Linked DNA regions of Homo sapiens: region 1 is linked to region 2. Evidence: promoter capture Hi-C in 16 types of primary human blood cells and fetal thymus (Javierre and others, 2016). All regions are on one chromosome and are shown on one strand. The core of a region is centred on a gene start or on the middle of the fragment in contact, and the rest is flanking DNA. Distances in the headings are between cores, read along the strand shown. Region 1 overlaps USP38-DT (USP38 divergent transcript). Region 2 holds the start of IL15 (interleukin 15).

What was found. Contacts are between HindIII fragments. The CHiCAGO score rates a contact against its expected background, and 5 or more counts as called.
Region 1: a fragment that was not itself captured here is called in contact with the fragment with the promoter of IL15 in region 2 in 1 of 17 cell types (total CD4 T cells); the score reaches 5.2 in total CD4 T cells.

Annotation. Positions count from the first base shown.
Region 1 is chr4:142,856,485-142,859,299 of GRCh38, forward strand. All of the region lies in intron 3 of USP38-DT (USP38 divergent transcript), which reads right to left. It overlaps LOC124900788 (a long non-coding RNA gene), which reads left to right. Exons shown (of 2, transcript XR_007058286.1): 2 at 748-925. Among named protein-coding and RNA genes, the nearest start is that of INPP4B, 12 kb to the left of the region's middle. The HindIII fragment of the contact is 4,240 bases long and covers 1-2,815 here.
Region 2 is chr4:141,635,196-141,637,947 of GRCh38, forward strand. IL15 (interleukin 15) reads left to right here and starts at 1,388. Exons shown (of 8, transcript NM_000585.5): 1 at 1,388-1,553. RefSeq lists an enhancer at 1,301-1,390. The HindIII fragment of the contact is 10,361 bases long and covers 1,080-2,752 here.

The sequences.
Region 1 (2,815 bases), core at 159-2,658, 1.2 Mb after region 2:
TGAGGGATAGGGTTAGTGGATAAGGGAGAAACTGGATTTGCCTCTTGCTGGACGTCAAAAGACTTTAGGGGAACGGGACCCCAGGAAGGGAACCCATAACCAAAGGTATTTTTCTTTTAAAACTGGGAAATACTGCCTGTAACATGTTGGCAGAACAAGTTGCATCCCTTCAGCACCCCCATTTGCTCCATCCCCGTATTTTAGCTCAGAATGCTGCAGCAGAATATGATAGACTGGGTGGCTTAAACCACAAACATTTATTGCTCACAGTTTTGGGGGATGGAAACTCCAAGTTCAAAGTGCCGGCAGTTTCTGTGTCTTGATTCTTGATTCATAGACAGCCATCTTCTCATCATATCTTCACATGGTCTCACCAGACTAATCATTTCTTCATGCCTCTTCCTTATAAGGACACTAATCTCATTCATGAGAACTCCACCCTCATGACTTAATTACTTAATTAGTAGCCAAAGCCCCACCTCCTAAGATTATCACATTGCAGATTCGCATTTCAACATATGAATTTGGAAAGAAGGAGAAAACATTAAATTAAATCCATAACACTCCCCATCCCACGTACTCTTCATGAAGGACTTCAGAAGTATAGAAGACTAAGAAATCGCATGGTATTTTTTCTTTTTCTTCCTCCACTGTCATTCCTTCTTGTGCTTACCATCCATCTCCCAGGTGTAAAGTAGAGTCAGTCACAGAATCTTAGCCTAACCTGATAACTTTGTTCCTTCCCAGGATGAGCAAGGGAGGCAGCAACAGTCTGGAGAAACCAGCCATGGTGTTGGAACCAGAAGATGATTAGGTAAAGGGGCTTTCCAAACCAGAACAAATGGGTGGAATATATAAACATGTTTTGGATCAAAAAAAAAATACTAGACTTCCTAAAATAAAACAGGATGACAGCCCTAACTAATCTTATTTGTTAAAGGAAGTGTGATCCTTGAAAGCTGAAGAAATTGCAAATGTTTGGGTGATAGTTACAAGGAATACAGACACACTGGGCAAACATGAAATACTAGGAGTCTGCGGTATTTGGCCTGTAATGGTGGGTCCCTTCTCCCTGTATCTGTTATTTTTCTCTGCCAGAGAAGTTGCTGGCATTGGTGTTACTGGGGTCCCAGTTACTTTCTACTACATAGCTACGAGGGGAGGGATGAGGAAAACTTGGGGAACTTGCCATCCAGGACCACAGTCTTGGTATCTTCTGCATGCTTCCCTTGGATAATTAATACTTCTCAGCAATTTTCATTGACTGTGCTTCTATTTAAAGTTAACCCTTTCCTCTCCTCCCACTAACTGAATGATCTCCATTCTCCTCAGTCTAAATTGCAAAGGGTAGCATTAGATTGAGGTCATTAACATCTCTCCTGTTAAAAAGAGAGCCTCTTGCAGCAAGCTGCCTCATAGGTTGCAGACCCATACATGGGTAAGCTAGCCTTAGATCAGATGTCCATGCTCTAAAGAGCATCTTAGCCGGGTGTAGTGGCTCAAGCCTGTAATCCCAGCACTTTGGAAGGCCGGGGTGGGCAGATCCCCTGAAGTCAGGAGTTTGAGATCAGCCTGATCAACAGGGTGAAACCCTGTCTCTCTAAAAATACAAAATTAGCCAGGCATGGTGGTGGGTGCCTGTAATCCCAGCTACTCGGGAGGCTGAAGCAGGAGAATCACTTGAACGCAGGAGGTGGAGGTTGCAGTGAGCCAAGATTGCGCCACTGCACTCCATCCTGGGTGACAAGAATGAAACTCCTCAAAAAAAAAAAAAAAAAGAGCATCCTAGCATTGTGTCTGAGAGCAGAGAGCTGTGAGCTGGGGATTTCAGCTTGAAGGGGATATTAGCCACCAGGCTAATAGAGGTCCTTAATGAAATGAATACACATTCACATAAGAAAGTAGCCTTTGATGAAAACACACACACATACAGTGAAATATGTTTCTACTAAAGGTCATGGAATCAAAGAGAGAGGTTCAAGTACTTGTCACCACTACAGACCACACTTATAGATGGGGTTAAGCCAAAACAGCATAGGAAAGTCAAATCTCTTACCGTTCAGGTCAAACTCCTAATATGCTATTAATTGTGGAGCTTTATCTTTCTAAAATGAGAGGAACACTGCCGGGTCTTTGTTCTGCTTTCTACACTAAAACATGCAGTTGTGGCTTTTATTAGGTCTGAAAGAGAAAGCATACTACGTGAAATAGTAAACCACAGCTTGATTGTCTCTTGATAATCTATATTCCAGGGAGGCTGCAGTTTATTTATCCAAGTATTGATGAAAGGCTAAATTTTTATAATGTACAAGCCAATTTAAACTGTTCTTAAAATGAATAAAGAAGAAAAGTCATACCTACTTGCACAATTACATAATTACATAGTTTTCAGCAATCTCTGAATGTTTCTTTCTTTTAAATTTTCTTGAGACGTAGCTATTTTTATATCACCTGTAGGTAGATTTTTTTTCTGGGAATCTGAGGAATAAAATTAAAGGTAAATGTGACTGGCTTCTATCTCAGTGACAGACAATATTCCCAATCCAAATGGCTTATTGGTGAAGAGGCTCAGAATCAATATTTCAGAGACTTGTTTTATCAAAGCCTGTAGTTCCTGGCCACTGCATTTCTCCTCTCCTTGTAGCTGAGCCATTTGACACTTCTCAGTTCCAAAGGCCTTTCATGAGAGGGTGTTGAAGACAGACACATGATACTGGAAGAGCCAGGTTTGAGATATTTATTGTTCATCCCTCCCAGAGCCTGTGTCCAGTTCTACTGACTGTATTTTTCCTTGTTAGTGAACCCCCACATTAAA
Region 2 (2,752 bases), core at 138-2,637:
ATATGCATATCAGTCCTTCCGTGGCTGCTATATTCTTGTGGTGAGATCCAAACCAGCTGCAGTCTTGCTCTCCCAGTGCATGCTCATTCTGCAAATCAGAGCTTCAATGTATTGCTATGAAAAATTCTGACTGGTCTTGAAATCCATTGACACCATCACAAGAAAATTCAACATGACATCGTCATGAACAGAAATGGATGATGGCTTCATATTCTTAAATATAATTTCCAACTATGGTGAAATTTTGAATGGTTGTAAAAACTGTTTTTGCATTTTTATACCTCACTTATTTTGTTAATGGAGACTATCTAGAGTTTGATGTAATTCTCATCAAAAAGTCCATCAGTAATTATTTCAAATATAAAACTGATATCAAAAAATTGAGTTAATGAAAATAAACTCAAATTTTTCATAAAAATATGAAATTATATTATACGGAACTTTATGTACATGGAAAGTGAATAATTTCTATTATTTTTCTATTTGATATTTATCATATTTATGTAATTAAAAACATAATTAAATTTTAAACTAAATTAAACTGCGCTCCAGGAAGACATCATTTTCTCTGAACCATGACTCTGAAAATTTGGAAAGCACCGTACAAGAGGGATTTTCAGTGATTCACAAGAGTGCAAGATTCTGCAAAGTACTTTCAAAACTAAGCGTGAGATCTTTGCTACTGCCTTTATGGCATGCAAATCACTCAGCCTCAACTCAGTTCCTTCCTCCAATGTAAAAATACTACAAGAACAACATCTCACGCTTCCATCAAATGGGACCATGTGTGATATTTTACACTGGACTACACAATAGGCTGGAAAAGTGATCCGCAGAGAGGCTCATTGCTCTAAGTTCACTCCCTGTACCAACTGTCTTGCACAAAGCTGCCACCCGGGTGTCTTCTTCCAACATTTCCCCTAGTTGGACTTCAAAGTTTCCTTCTTGCAGCCTGTGCGGGGACCAAGAGGCCGGTCTAGAGTAGCCGCCCAGCATCCAGATCCGACATCCTTTTCCCTTTCCTCAGGAAGACTTGGATGCGCGCCAGCCCAGCCCGGGTCTCCAGGTTCAGCTGCGGAAGCTTCCCACATGGTGCCCGTCGCTTGGGATGCGGCTATCCTTGTGCCTTCTCTGCAGGTGTCCCGGCAGGTAGAGGAGGAGACCGGTGGCTGGTGTTCCTGCAGGGCGGGGCTGGGGCTCCTCGATGTCCTTGCGCTTGCCCTGCAAGTTCTGCGCCCCAGGCCCCGGCAGGGACGGAAACAGGCCGGGAAGCAGTGACACCTGGGGCAGTCAGTCATCCAGGAGCCGCCGCCACCCGCCCCACCCCCAGTCTCCGCGGGAGGTGTTTGTCTTCGCCTATGCTCCCGGCTCTTTCTCTTTCACTTTTCTTTTCGCCAGGGGTTGGGACTCCGGGTGGCAGGCGCCCGGGGGAATCCCAGCTGACTCGCTCACTGCCTTCGAAGTCCGGCGCCCCCCGGGAGGGAACTGGGTGGCCGCACCCTCCCGGCTGCGGTGGCTGTCGCCCCCCACCCTGCAGCCAGGACTCGATGGAGGTACAGAGCTCGGCTTCTTTGCCTTGGGAGGGGAGTGGTGGTGGTTGAAAGGGCGATGGAATTTTCCCCGAAAGCCTACGCCCAGGGCCCCTCCCAGCTCCAGCGTTACCCTCCGGTCTATCCTACTGGCCGAGCTGCCCCGCCTTCTCATGGGGAAAACTTAGCCGCAACTTCAATTTTTGGTTTTTCCTTTAATGACACTTCTGAGGCTCTCCTAGCCATCCTCCCGCTTCCGGAGGAGCGCAGATCGCAGGTCCCTTTGCCCCTGGCGTGCGACTCCCTACTGCGCTGCGCTCTTACGGCGTTCCAGGCTGCTGGCTAGCGCAAGGCGGGCCGGGCACCCCGCGCTCCGCTGGGAGGGTGAGGGACGCGCGTCTGGCGGCCCCAGCCAAGCTGCGGGTTTCTGAGAAGACGCTGTCCCGCAGCCCTGAGGGCTGAGTTCTGCACCCAGTCAAGCTCAGGAAGGCCAAGAAAAGGTACCGCAGCTCCCCACTTCCTAACTGCTCCCGTCCCAAACTCATTGTGGGCCGGTGCAGATGTCTGTGCGTGCGCGTCTATCCCTACCTTTGCAAAATCAAATTATCGCCCTCTTCTTTGCTTGCACACGTCTTCTGGGAGAGAAATTTGCAGGAATGGTCAGTGCTTGGCAGTCAGGCCTGGGTCTGTATTGGTTCCAACTCTGCGCCAGCCAGTTATCTCTTAGAGAAGCGATAGTGTATCTAGAATGTCGAAGGAACTTGGAAAAAATACGAGCGAATTTCACTGAAATAAAATCATTATTCAAGGTGGCTTTTAAATGAAAATCCAGCCAATTTTTTCAAGTGTTATTAAGACCGCATGTAGCAAGGGTATATAGTTCATTTGACTTTATGTAATTCCATGCATTAAAAACTATGTTGACTTCAAAGTATGTCTAAACCAAACTAATTCTTAAATGATGCTTACAACAGATTCTTAAATAGGATGAGTCAGCAATTTCAAAACTGGAAGTAAAGTGGTGGTCACCAGCTAGTTTCCATTATATATTTTTAAACTACTATCTAATATTATGATACTGGTGGTGGCCAACTAAGTGGACGTCATCCTTATCTTGTCAGTGTGGTGAAAGAGGCCATATTAGCTAGGCTGAATTTTTGCTCAGGTATTACAGAATAAACTGGTGATTATGCATCCTGCCATGTAGAGGTTATAAGGTGAAC